Regions from separate parts of the Homo sapiens genome. Here region 2 is linked to region 1. The links are contacts of gene promoters, found by promoter capture Hi-C in blood cells and fetal thymus (Javierre and others, 2016). All regions are on one chromosome and are shown on one strand. The core of a region is centred on a gene start or on the middle of the fragment in contact, and the rest is flanking DNA. Distances in the headings are between cores, read along the strand shown. Region 1 holds the start of VASP (vasodilator stimulated phosphoprotein). Region 2 holds the start of MBOAT7 (membrane bound acylglycerophosphatidylinositol O-acyltransferase MBOAT7).

Region 1 (6,573 bases), core at 2,157-4,656:
TATGACTCATTGCGGCCTCAACCTCCCCAGCTCAAACGATCCTCTCGCCTCAGCCTCCAGAGTAGCTGGAACTACAGGCGCATGCCACCACACCCAGCTAATTTTTGTATATTTTGTAGAGACGGGGTTACACCATATTGCCCAGGCTGTTCTCAAACTCCTGGGCTCAAGCGATCCTTCTGCCTTGGCCTCCCAAAGTGTTAGGATTACAGGCATGAGCCCCGGCGCCTGGCCCTGTTTGAGTTTAATAGGCACCTTGCCTAACTTTCCTGTGCCTCAGTTTCCCCATCTATAAACTGAGTACCGGGGTGGGGAGGCCACAAGGTTGTAATAGTATCATTGTTCGAACTGCCATGAGGGGCCAGGTGTGGTGGCTGACGTCTGTAATAATAACACTTTAGGAGGTCGAGGCGGGTGGATCACCTGAGGTTAAGAGTTCGAGACCAGCCTGGCCATCACGGTGAAACCCTATCTCTACTAAAAATATAAAAATTAGCCGGGCATGGTGGCAGGCACCTGTAGTCCCAGCTACTCGGAAGGTTGAGGAGGAGAATCGCTTGAACCCAGGAGACGGAGGTTGCAGTGAGCCGAGATCATGCCATTTCACAACAGCCTGGGCAACAAGAGCAAAATTTCCGTCTCAAAACAAACAAACAAACCAACAAAAAAACCAGCCAGAATTGCTGTCAGGCACAAAAATGCCCCACATAAAATAGATGCTTGATCAAATGGTCTCTTATTTTTTAAAAATAAAAATAGCTATTATTGGAAGAAGAAAGAAATGGACCCCAGTTCTCCCCAAGTCCCTTCTGCCCTGAGATTCTAGACCTCTGCCTCGCTTCTCTGTCTTCCCAGCACCCCAGCTCCAGTCCCGGACACAGCCAACACTCAACAAATATTTGTCAAACTGGGAGAAAAAGAACTATATCTTGTAATTTTCCATCTTAACATCCTCTCTTCCAACTGCCCCCAGGACTGTCCCCAGCCAAACCAGCCAGAAATCAGAGGATCCTAGGCTCCTCCACCCCTCCAACGTTGCCTAGGAATTTCTGAGGGATCTTGGCCATGTCTTTTTCTCTTTGAGCCTCAGTTTCCCCAGCTGGGTAATAGGGGCATGGGTTTTGAATTCTGGCTGTCCTTGGAGAAGAGGCACAGCCCAGGAAGTCGGGTGTGACCACCTGCAGGGGAGACCCCCTGGAAAGGTGGGAGTGGCCTTTTGGTGGGACAGGCATCTGGTCATTTCTGCACCGCACCCCACCCCAGCACCCCCACAAGACGGGATGCTTGGCCACCACCACAGCAAGAGGTGGGCCTTGTGGGAGGGCCAGGGCTTCCAGGGCTGGTGCTGGTGGTGGTGGTGGTGGTGGGGAGGACAGGGGGCCGGCCCAGACACCGCTCCTGCCCTTTTACGGTTGCAGTGAGTGAGGCAGCACTAACTCGGACATCCGCCATCCGCCTTCCACCGAGCCTGGGACCGGAAACGCGAGGGGGGGTGGAGGGGCGGGGCTGGGGGGCAAGGGGAGAGAAGAGTCCCGGAGGAAGAGGGCGAAGGAAGAGAGCGACGCTCCCTAAACTGACCCCTCTCCAGGGCGGACTTGGAAGGGATGTTGCTATAATGGGGAGCGGATAGGCAGGAAGTCTTGAGGGTATCTGTGGGTGTCCTCCTTGCTCCAAATTTTCCAGCCATGCCTTTCACATCAGAAGGAACAAACGCGGGAGGGGGATTCTCTAGTGGTCATAAAAAGGAATGCCACGCCACTCCGATGTCAAAGGGCAGGGGTTCAGGAAATGCGGGGGATGTGGGCACCACGGGGTTAATCCCCAACCGTCCCCAGGGGCCTCCCTGCTCAGGCTGGGGGCTTTGGGGCAGGAAGTCCCAGAGAGAGTAGAGGAAGGGAGATAGTATTGTCAGGCTCTGGCCCCATGGGAGAGATTATGGGGGGCCAGGGGAGGGAAGAATAGGGGGGATGGTTGGGCCCCCCTGCCCACACTGGCCCCGCCCTCAGGTGAGCCCAGGAGTTCGGGGGAGGCCCCGGCCAGACCAAATCCCTGGGTCCCTTGGGCCGCCACCCCCAGGATTAAATTCCTGGGAAGATAGCTGGAATTATCTGGGAAGCCTGGGTCCCTAGGGAAGAGGGCTATGACCTTGAAGCTTTCCAGCTCCCCCTCCTCCAACCCCAAGGCTCCGGGTGGATAGGGGGACGGTGAGCAAAGGGGGAGGGGCCGTGGTGGGGAAGGCAGCCGGCCTACAGCGCTTGGTGCCCGCCCCCCACACCAGCTGTCTCGACAGGTGAGTCAGGAAGACAAAGGCCCCCTTCCCCCAGCTGCCGCGCCCCCTCCCTCTCCAGGGCCGCGCAGGTGGGGGAGCCGGGCCGCCCTTATGGCCGGAGGCGGGGAGCCGCCCTCTGCTCCGAGCGCCCGCTCGGTCCTAGGCACGGCCAGTTAAGCAGATTGTGTGCGGAGCGACGGGGAAGGGGGGGGTCCCACCAGACTCTGGAGGCTGCGTCCAGGTCCCTGGATCGGTTCACACCAGCCTCCTCCACAGGAAGACCTAAGTGACCCCCAAAATCCAGGGGATTAAGAAGTACCCCCGAAGTTATGGAGCGCGGTCCCACTTGGGGAGACTTTTTCCAGCACCAAGTAAACGGGGGACCTGCACACCCAGGGTCTGAGTCTCAGTCTCTCTTCCAAGTCCCAGGGTATCCCAAATCGGTCCCCCACAATCCTTCCCGGACCTCGAGCTGAAGTCTGGGGGGAGGGGGAGGAGAGTCTGAGCCCTGCCTCAATCCTGGCATCCCTGCGGGGAGTCGCTGCCAACTTTGAGGTCCTCTAAAAAAAGTCTTAACAATTCGGGAGTCCTCCGAGCGCCCCCAAATCTTGAGGGCTCCCAGGAGAACCTCACCGCCACCACCCCCCGAGCTTGGGGAGTCAGTCGTGGAGAAGTGATCGACGGTTCTGGGGCGCGTCCAAGGGGATTCAGCTCAAATCCGAGGCTCCCAAGGATCTGTCCCCAAATTCCAGCCCGGAGCTAGCTGGGGGGGAGGGGGACAAAGGCGGGGCGCGGAGCCCGCCCGGGCGGGGACGGGTCGGGGGGCAGGTCCGGCTCACCTCATGGCTGCTCGGCGGGCGGGCGGCTCGCCCACGGGCTGGCTGCTCCCGGGGCGCCCCTGGCTGGAGGTTCAGGGGTTCGGGGCTGGCTCCGGGCTCGGCTCAGGCTCCCCCAGGGTCCCGCCCCATAGAGTCCGGCTTCCTGGGGAGAATGTGGACCGGGCCGGGGCGGGTCTCCGGGCGCCGCTTCCCTCAGGCGGTCTGATGAGAGGTTCCTGCAGCAGAAAGGGGATGCAGCGTCCGCTCCCCAGCGCGCACCCCTTGCCGGTGGCGGCTACAGTGTTACTCTTACTACTGTACTTCTCTTCGTTACATTTCGTTCCAAAATTCCACTCCCCGCACCCACAATGCCCCGCGCCTTAAAGGGGCCGCGTGCGCCTCCAGGCGAGGGGGTGGAGGGCGCTTAAAAGGGCAACTCTGCACCCTCGGCTTCCGCGATCTCGCTCCTCTCCCCAATGTTGTAGCCCAGGGGTGCACCCTGGGAATCACCCCCACCTGAGGGGCAAGTTGGTGAAGGGGAAGGGGACCTCCCTTGCTTCCTAGTTCGCTCCCACTGTGGGAATTCTGAGGAGGGTCTCGGAAGGGGCGCGATTTCTTTCCCCATCGACTTCTCCATCTCGTACTCCGCTCAATTTTGGGGGTCGAGGAGGACCCTCAAGTTAAGCAAGTGGTCTCAGATTTTCTCCCTGAAATCCCATCTTCGGAACACCGCCCCTCCCCAGCGTTTCTCTTCTGTCAATTTCGGAGAGGTTACTAAGGGGGCGAGACCCCCACCCGCACGGGAGTGGAAGTCGGGGGAGTAGGGCCCAACCCCTCTCACCCCACCCCGCCCGCCCCGGGAAGGTGAGGAGGAAGTGGGCCAAGGGGGCGCGGTCGGTCGCTGACTCACAGCCGCAGGGTCGGGGGTGGGGTGGGGTGGAGGTGGGGACTGGCGAGGAGTGCGGGAGTGGGGGGCCCGGCATTCGCCCGGGGTGGGCAGGAGGCGCCGGCTTCTTTGGTGTGTAAAGCCTCCGGCCCACGCACGCCCCGCTCTGACTCAGTTTCGCCTGCGGAGGACAGCAGGATCATCCCAGCCCTCAGGAGGGCCCGGAGGTGAGGAGACCCTCCCGGGAGCCCCCGCCCCCACACGCCGGCTCCGGGCTGAGCCCAGACACCCTCTGAGGCTTCCGCAGCGTGTCTTGCCGGCCCCGCCCCGAGTGACGTCACTGATTTGGTCGCGCCCCTTGGGTAGAGCGCCACCTGGCCCGGGTGAGGCGCCCGAGCCCTGGGAAATCAGTTAGTTCCACATTTACACACGGGTAAACTGAGGCCTGGAGACAGGGAATGAATCTGGCCTATGGCCCTCTTGCCTGAGCCCCCAGAACCCGGAAAGCCACCAAGGTCTGAGTGTAAAACCAACAATTCTCAGGGCCAGCTGACTATGTGAGAGAATCCACTTTTCCAGCGTATGTCCAAGCCGAGTCCCATGTCCGGATGTTGATGTTGTCCTGACCTCCTTTACCTGGGGAGCACGTCATCCTTCCAGGCCAAGCTTTGACATTAATTCCCCTCCCCTTCTCCACCCCACTCTGGGAGACCTTGAACCCTGTTCCTCGGAGGTTATCATTGTTTCTCAGTGTGTTTCCTCAGGCTGAGTTGTCTGGGAGAATGGGTAGACTAAATTTCTTTTTTTCTTTTTTTTTTTTTGAGATGTAGTCTCTCGCTGTCACCCAGGCTGGAGGGCGCTGGCTCGATCCCCGCTTACTGCAACCTCCCCCTCCTGGGTTCAAGCAATTCTCCTGCCTCACCCTCCTAAAGTAGCTGGGATTACAGGCACGGGCCACCAAGCCCAACTAATTTTTGTATTTTTAGTAGAGATGGGATTTCACCATGTTGGCCAGGCTGGTCTCAAACTTATGACCTCAGGTGATCTGCCTGCCTCAGTCTCCCAAAGTGCTAGGATTACAGGCATGAGCCACTGCACCCAGTTGACTTAATCAATTTCTGGACCTCACTCACCCCAGCCAGGCCCGCCCGGCTCAGCAGCTCAACAAACTTACCTAGTTGAATGAGTTACCAGTTCAGTGTGACCTTGGGTAACTGTGTTCTCCTCTCTGGGTCTCAGCTTTCCCATCTGTGACATAGGAGGGGTGGCATTTCTGGGTGCCACCTACACTACAACAACAGTCAGCAAACATGGTTTTTTGTTTGTTTGTTTGTTGGAGACAGGGTCTTTGTTGCCCATGCCGGAGCGCAGTAGCATAACCAGGGCTCATTCGATCCTCTAACCTCAGCCCACTGAGTAGCTGGGACTGTAGGTCCACACCACCATGCCAGGCTAATTTTTTGTAGAGACAGGGTTTAGCTGTGTTGCCCAGGCTGGTCTCAAACTCCTGGGCTAAAGTGATCAGCCTGGCTCAGCCTCCCAAAGTGCTGGGATTGGAGGTGTGAGTCACCAGGCCCAGCCGGCAAACATTTTCTGTAAAAGTTCAAATAGGAAATATTTTAGATATGCTAGACATAGGGTCTGGTTTACACACTCTTCAGTTTTTCTTTTTTCTTACAAGGCTTAAAAACTGTAAAAAAAACTCTTCTTAGCTTAAGTGCTGTACAAAACAGGTAGCAAGACCCCTGTGTAAGAGAACGCTTGCATATGTACATAACGATCTTTACGGTAGCAGTGATGTGAGAGCAAGAAATTGGAAATAGCTTAAATGTTCATCAAGAGGACAGGGGAGGCTGGGCACAGTGGCTCACGCCTGTAATCCCAGCACTTTGGGAGGCCGAGGCGGGTGGATCACTTGAGGTCAGGAGTTCAAGACCAGCCTGGCCAACATGGTGAAACCCCGTTTCTACCAAAAACAAAAAATTAACCAGGCATGGTGGCACACACCTGTAATCCCAGCTACTTGGGTGGCTGAGGGGCTGAGGTGGGAGGATCACTTGAACCCCGGAGGCGGAGGTTGCAGTGAGCCAAGATCGTGACACTACACTCCAGCCTGGGAGACAGAGCAAGACTCCTCAAAAAAAATTAAACAAAACAAAACAAAAAAAAGATGAGGGCAGGGAATAGTGAAACCCTTGGACATCCTTTTCTGAAGCACGGAGTGAGCAGCAACTTAAGGAGGTGTGGACTGGGCAAGGTGTGTCATGCCTGTAATCCCAGTGCTTTGGTGCTTTGAGAAGCCAAGGCAGGAGGATCACTTGAGGTCAGGGAGTTTGAGACCAGCCTGGACAACATAGTGAGGCCCCATTTCTCTCTTTTTTTTTTTTTTTTTTTTGAGACAGAGTTTCATTCTTGTTTCCCAGGCTAGAGTTCAATGGCGCAATCTCGGCTCACTGCAACCTCCACCTCCTGGGTTCAAGCGATTCTCCTGCCTCAGCCTCCCAAGTAGCTGGGATTACAGGCATGCACCACCAAGCCCAGCTAATTTTTGCATTTTTTAGTAGAGATGGGGTTTCTCCATGTTGGTCAGGCTGGTCTCG
Region 2 (6,573 bases), core at 4,074-6,573, 8.7 Mb before region 1:
TTAGCCAGGTGAGGTGGCGGGCGCCTGTAGTCCCGGCTACTAGGGAGGCTGAGGCAGGAGAATGGCGTGAACCTGGGAGGCGGAGCTTGCAGTGAGCAGAGATCGCGCCACTGCACTCCAGCCTGGGCGACAGCGAGACTCCGCCTCAAAAAAAAAAAAAAACAAAAAAACAAAAAAAAAACGATGATTCTGGCTGCTCTGTTGAAAACAGACAACAGAGGGGCAAGAATGGAAGGCAGGGGATGAGTTAGGAAGCTATCAATATCAAATGAGCCATGGTTTGGTTTTTCTAAGATACTGGCAGTGAAGGTGGAGGGTGGGGCCTAACTGTGGATCCACAGTGCTTTGAACATGGCACCTATAGAATTTGTTGACTGACAACATGGGGGGACACCAGTCACAAAAGTTTTTTTTTGTTTGTTTGTTTTAAATAGAGATGAGATGAGGTCTCACTATGTTCAGCCAAGGCTGGTCTCAAACTCCTGAGCTCAGCGGCTCAACTGATCTTCCCACCTTGGCCTCCCAAAGTGCTAGGATTACAGGTCTGAGCCACCACATCTGGCCACAGGAGTTTTAAATGAGGAACTTTTCAGAGGAGAGACTCATGACAGAGGGAATGAGACTTCTAAGTACTTTGTTGTAGAGAGGAGAAAGGGTGGAGAATAGACTTACAAAGCCAATTATGAAGCAGGCACAAAGAGAGTATTGGCCAGACAGGGGTTAGCGTCATTTTTTTTCTTTTCATTTTTTTGAGATGGAGTTTAGCTCTTGTTGCCCAGGCTGGAGTGTAGTAGTGCGATCTTGGCTCACTGCAACCTCTGCCTCCCGGATTCAAGTGATTCTCCTGCCTTAGGCTCCTGAGTAGCTAGGAGTACAGGCGCATGCCACCACGCCCGGCTAATTTTTTTTTTTGTATTTTTAGTAGAGATGGGGTTTCACCATATTGGCCAGGCTGATCTCAAACTCATCTGCCCACCTCAGCCTCCCAAAGTGCTGGGATTACAGGTGTGAGCCACCACACCTGGCCCAGTGTCATATTTTAAATTAATCTAAACTTACAGGAAATTGAGATTCTATGAAGTCTGTTTACTGGGAATGGCAAGAAAGAGGGGAGATGGGAGTCTCTCTAAACCTATTCTGGTTCCAGAGGCTGCTCAATTCACACAAAAAAGAGAAAGAATGAAACATGGGGGGAAGAAATGGAAGAACTAGAGGTGGAGACTTTCAGCCCCAGAATTTTACCATGTGGAAGTTTTTGTTTGTTTTTGTTTTTTTGAGACAGTGTCTAGCTCTGTCGCCCAGACTGGAGTGCAGTGGCGTGACCTTGGCTCACTGCAACCTCCACCTCCCAGATTCAAGTGATTCTCCTGCCTCAGCCTCCGGAGTAGCTAGGATTACAGGCGCCCGCCACCACGCCCGGCTAATTTTTGTATTTTTCATAGAGGCGGGCCATGTTGGCCAGGATGCTCTGGAACTCCTGACCTCATGATCCGCCCGCCTTGGTCTCCCAAAGTGCTGGGATTACAAGCATAAGCCACCACGCCCAGACTCACCATGTGAATGTATTACACTGACAAAATAAACGTGACAAAATAAAACTGCACATTGATAAGATAAAGGTGTAATTATTGGAATAGTGGTAGTGTTCTAGTACTTTCTTAAGCAAAAACATGGGTAAATGATTTCATAAGTGCAAATTTTTTACAAATACATGTGTTTTAGCTTTTATAAAAATTGCAGAATATAACACATCCAAAAAAGAGTCTAAAATATAAATATACAGTATCAAAAAAATTCACCACTACCCAGGCCATGAAAAAGCAGAACGCCTTCCAGAGTCCTTCCTTTCTCCCCAGGCTCTGAACTCCTAAAATTACAATACTCATTTCCTTTCATAATATATATATATATACACACACATATATATACATACATGTGTGTATATTTACATATATACACACACACATATATATATTTTTTGAGACAGGTTCTTGCTCTGTCTCCCAGGCTGGAGGGCAGTGGTGCAATCACAGCTCACAGCAGCCTCAACTTCCCAGGCTCAAGGGATCCCTGGCTAATTTTTTTTTAAATTATTTTTTGTAGAGACTGGGTATTACAATGTTGCCAGAGCTGGTCTCAAACTCCTGGGCTCAAGCGATCCCCCTGCCTTGGCCTCCAAAAGTTCTGTGGGATTACAGGTGTGGGTCATCGTGCCCAGCCTATATTTTTATTTATAACGTTTGTATGCATCTGGGAAATTTCATAGAAATCTTTTCAAAAGGAAGTTTAGTGAGGTAGAAAGAGTGCAGATTTAGGAGTCAGAAAAACCAATTTTGAAAGGCCAGGCCTGCTATTTACTAAGTGTGTGACTTTGGGCAAGTCAGTCCCCCTCCTCCAGGCCTTTTTCTCACCTGTACATGCAGATGAGACCATCCACGGGTTCCAGGACTGTCGCAAACATTCAAATCATGAACATTTATATACCAAGTTTATTGAGACCTCCTGAGACTTAAACCCTGTAGAAAACAGATGAATCAAACCCAGGCCCCATTCTCGGGAAGCTCACAGTGTGAAAATAGGTAACTACAAAAACACAGCCAATAAGTGCTTTGAAACAAGGAAGAACATAAAAAAGATGTAGTGTTCGAAAACCTGGAATCAAAAACTAACCGCGGAGAAAGGTAGGAGGATGTTCTAGACTCCCAGAGAAGAGCTGGGGAACATCCAGAAAGGCTCTTGCTGCCGACACAGCCACATCCCCTAGGTCTCTGGAGTTCACTGCAGGCTGGCCCATTGCAGGGAGGTGTAGACCACCTTACCATCAGGCTGCGGAGAACAGAGGAGCAGGGTCTTTCTGACGCTGGTTCCAAGGCGCCCAGCAGCAACCAGGTCTTGGAGTGGGATGGTGTCCTCAGGGGCCCAGCACTGAGCGATATAATGGGCGTGGAAGCGGAGGGGGTCACCTGGGGGAAGGAGAGAGGCACTGAAGCAGTGACCAATGGCAGACGGCTGGACGCCACGGGAACGACCACTGGGAGGAGATCTGAGATCATTTCAGCCATCACTATAGATACTCTAAAACAGATGCTCTTGGACACAACTATTCCACTTCTAGGCTTTTTTTTTTTTTTTGAGACAAAGTCTCGCTCTTGTCCCCCAGGCTGGAGTGCAATGGCACGATCTTGGCTCACTACAACCTCTGCCCCCTGGGTTCACATGATTCTCCTGCTTCAGCCTCCCGAGTAGCTGGAAATACAGGCACCCACCACCACGCCCAGTTAGTTTTAGTATTTTTAGTAGAGATGGGGTTTCACCATGTTGGCCAGACTGGTATCAAACTCCTGACCTCAGGTGATCCACCTGTCTTGGCCTCCCAAAGTGTTGGGATTACAGGCGTGAGCCATTGCGCCCAGCCTGATGTCTAACTACTTCTAAGTGAATCTTCTGGATCACAGTAATCATTTAATAAAAGTCGTTAAACTGCTTGCCCAATGAGTTCGGGAGCTCCCAAATGTTTCCTGTCTGTCTATGAATTTCAGAGGCTAAGAGAAAGTGAGACAAAAAAGAAAAATGCAGCTGGGCCTATAATTCCAGCACTTTGGGGGGCCGAGGTGGAAGGATTGCTTGAGCCCAGGAATAGGGACCAGCCTAAGCAACAAGAGACCCCACCTCTATTAAGACAAAAAAAAAAAAAAAGAAAAACGCAGAATACATTGGGATCGTATGGAAAGGCACAGCAACCAGAGGCCCCAACCCATACTCACCAGGATAGACCAGGAAGTCACCTCCGAACTTGCCAGCCGCACTGAGGAAGAAGCCTCGCTCCCACAGGTCTCTGTAGATACTGTAGCGCAGCTCGTGGGCAGGGCGGCCGGCGTGGGGCCAGTCTTTAGACTGGACACGCCAGTCCAGGGGCCTGGCCTTGACCGGTCGAGGCCTGGCAGTGGCCAGCTGGACAAGGAGAGCAGATCTGGGCAAGGGGGCTACCCCATTTGAGGGTCCTGCTTGGGAAGACGAGGGGCCTGGTGGGGAGTACAGAGAAGAGTTTGGTAAATTCAAGGGGTAAAGTCTTCTCACCCTCAGGGAGACCCAGGCACTGGATTCCCAGCTAAAATTCCTAAAAGATCTCTCCTCTCCTTCCCGTGGTCCCTGGACTCCACCTCCCATGCTCACCAGCTTCCTCCTGCTCTCCCGAAGCCTGGCCATCACTGGTCTCATCCTCTTTGGCAGCCTGGCTCGAGCCGGCCTCCTGGCTTGAGCTGGCCCCTGAAGCCTGTTCTAGTTTCTGCTTCTTAGCAGCCTGGCCCTCCGTAATCTTCTCCAGGAGCTCCTGACGACGGGTCTCCCGGGCCTCAGCTGCCAAGGCGCTCTGCTCCTGGAAGCTCTCCTCTTGCTGGCGCTTGAAGGATGTCAGGGCCTGAGAAGCACACTTCGCTGGAACCTCCAAGCTTATGGTCCCTTCAGAAGCCAGGAAACTTGACTCCCAGGTCCCGCTCCCACCGAACCCGAGTTCGAGCCCCGCCCCCTTACCAGGCTGTGGTGCCGAGAGTCTGGACGCGGGGCGCTGACCAGAGTCACGGCGCCGATCTCGGCCAAGAGCCGCGCCTCTTCGGGCATCAGCAGCAGCGGGAGGCCCAGGCGCGAGTTCTGGCGGGGCCCGCGGGGCAGGGCGCCTACCGTGCGGCCCCCCACACCCAGGCGCTCCCGGAGGGCCTGCACCGCCTCGGCTCCCCACACCAGGGAGCGGCCGTTCGCCACCTCCACCACCAGCATCCTCCTGCGGGAGCCGGGAGGCAAAGCAGTTACCGAAACAGCTGCGCGCCGCGGACCGCTGCAGCGCACCCAAAGCCTCCGGGGTCTCGGCGAAGCCCCGCCCCTAGGCCTCAGGGGGCGGGGCCTCGCTCAGCCGCCGTTCACCACCTGCTGGGCCCGAGCGCCAGGCCCCGCCCCCGGGCGATCCCACCAGGCCTCGCGGCCGCCGGAGACGAGACGCCGGAGACAAGCCCCCGACCCTCTCCCCTCGCCAAGCCCCCAGGGTCCCGCTCTACCCTTGTGACCCTGCGGTCGGCACCCGCTCTGTGCCCGCACTGCCGTACCTACCATTGCGCCTTGGAGCGTGAAAAACAAACCTCCGCAAGCGCGGCGACACGCCCCCTTACAAAGGTCCATTTTGGCACCACCCTCTTGCAAAGTGGGCGTCCCCCTTCGGGTGTTCCCGTCAGCGGTCAGAAGCTCTGGAGGCTAAGGCACCGCCGAGGCCACACCCTCTTCCGGACGCTCGAGCCTTCGCTCCTCCTCTTTCCGAACGACTGTGATTCGGCTTTCGGACCTCCTCGCTCTCAGACTCCCACAGTACAAAACCCTGCCCCCTCCCGAGCACAGGAAGTTCGGCGTTCGGGCGTCCTCGGCTCCACCGAATCCGCAGCCCCGCCCCCTTCTCGAACGCCAGCAATTTGACGTTCGGGTGTTCTCGGCTCGGCCGAATCCGTAGCCCCGCCTCCTCCCGGACGCAATAGGTTCGGCGTTCGGGCGTCATCGGCTCCCGGCAGCCTCGCGGCCTGTGGCCCCGCCCCCTCCGAGCGCCAGCGCACCCCAGTTGGGGAGTTCCCGCCCTACGACCGAACCCCACAGCCGAAAGCCCCGCCCCCTGGACACCCGCCGTCCACTCTCCGCTCGGGCGGGCTCACCCCAATTGGGAGCGCTCAGTCCGCCTCCTTGCCTCCCTTCAGAATGTCCCACTGTCCACCGATAGAACCAGCGAGTCACCTCATAAACAGTAATTCGCAGTCGAGGTGGAGCCACCCACTGCGCACCGCGCCACGCGCTCCTTGCTCCACCCCCTCATGCCGACACCCTCGTCAACTTCGTCATCCCGCCCCATCAGCGCCGCGGGAAGTCAGGTCCCGCCCCTCGCAGGACCGAAGCCCCGCCCTCCTCCCGCGGGGGCCACCTTGGCTCCGCCCCACTGAGCGCACCTCCCTCTGCCGCTTCCTCTCCTCTACTTGGGAACTTGAGGATCGTCATCCTGGCCCGGTCCCGTAGGCGCACGCCGGCCCTCGGGGTTCCGCCCCTTTGAGGGCAAGTCGCTTTCGCCCCGCCCCCTTGTAAATACTCATGGGTGTCTGGCGAACCTGTTGACTCCGCCTATCATCCTAGCGTCACTTGTACCCAACTATCTACGAAGTAAACCGAAGCTTGTGGCCCCACCCACATCCGGCCGAGTCTGTGGCCCCGCCCACATCGGAACAGTGACCCTAAGGACTCGACTACCTCCGAAGAAAGCCGAAACATGTGGCTCCGCCCACAGTGGCCTCAGCTCTCCGTTCTCGACTATTGCCGAAGTGAGCCGAAGTTTGTGGCCCCGCTTCCGGAGAACTCAAGCTCCCGATTGTGCCCGAAGGAACCCGAAGGGAGACCCCGCCTCATTCCTCACGCCGAGCTCCAGACCCCGCCTCCTTTCCAGAGCCCGTCTGTTCCCCTTCGGGTCCAAAGCTTTTGGCTCCTCCTTGTTCCGAGCCCGAAGGCCCGCCCCTTCACGTACTCGGAGCTCGGATCCCAGTGTGGACCTGGACT

Evidence for each region. Contacts are between HindIII fragments. The CHiCAGO score rates a contact against its expected background, and 5 or more counts as called.
Region 2: a contact is called between a fragment that was not itself captured here and the fragment with the promoter of VASP in region 1, in 1 of 17 cell types (total CD8 T cells). The highest score is 6.5, in total CD8 T cells.

Annotation. Positions count from the first base shown.
Region 1 is chr19:45,504,312-45,510,884 of GRCh38, reverse strand. It overlaps VASP (vasodilator stimulated phosphoprotein), which reads right to left and starts at 3,406. Exons shown (of 13, transcript NM_003370.4): 1 at 3,109-3,406. The coding sequence starts at 3,113. LOC107985314 (a long non-coding RNA gene) reads left to right here and starts at 3,511. Exons shown (of 2, transcript XR_007067269.1): 1 at 3,511-4,200. RefSeq lists silencers at 1,342-1,471, 2,282-2,481, 3,076-3,255, 3,936-4,065, 4,096-4,345 and enhancers at 3,406-3,675, 2,957-3,741. The HindIII fragment of the contact is 2,487 bases long and covers 2,155-4,641 here.
Region 2 is chr19:54,189,565-54,196,137 of GRCh38, reverse strand. It overlaps MBOAT7 (membrane bound acylglycerophosphatidylinositol O-acyltransferase MBOAT7), which reads left to right and starts at 6,558. Exons shown (of 8, transcript NM_024298.5): 1 at 6,558-6,573. TSEN34 (tRNA splicing endonuclease subunit 34) reads right to left here and starts at 4,830. Exons shown (of 4, transcript NM_001077446.4): 1 at 4,531-4,830; 2 at 4,174-4,417; 3 at 3,765-4,022; 4 at 1,606-2,963. The coding sequence starts at 4,773. The coding sequence ends at 2,776. RefSeq lists enhancers at 3,378-3,894, 5,863-6,544, 6,545-6,573 and a silencer at 4,739-4,940. The HindIII fragment of the contact is 1,746 bases long and covers 4,451-6,196 here.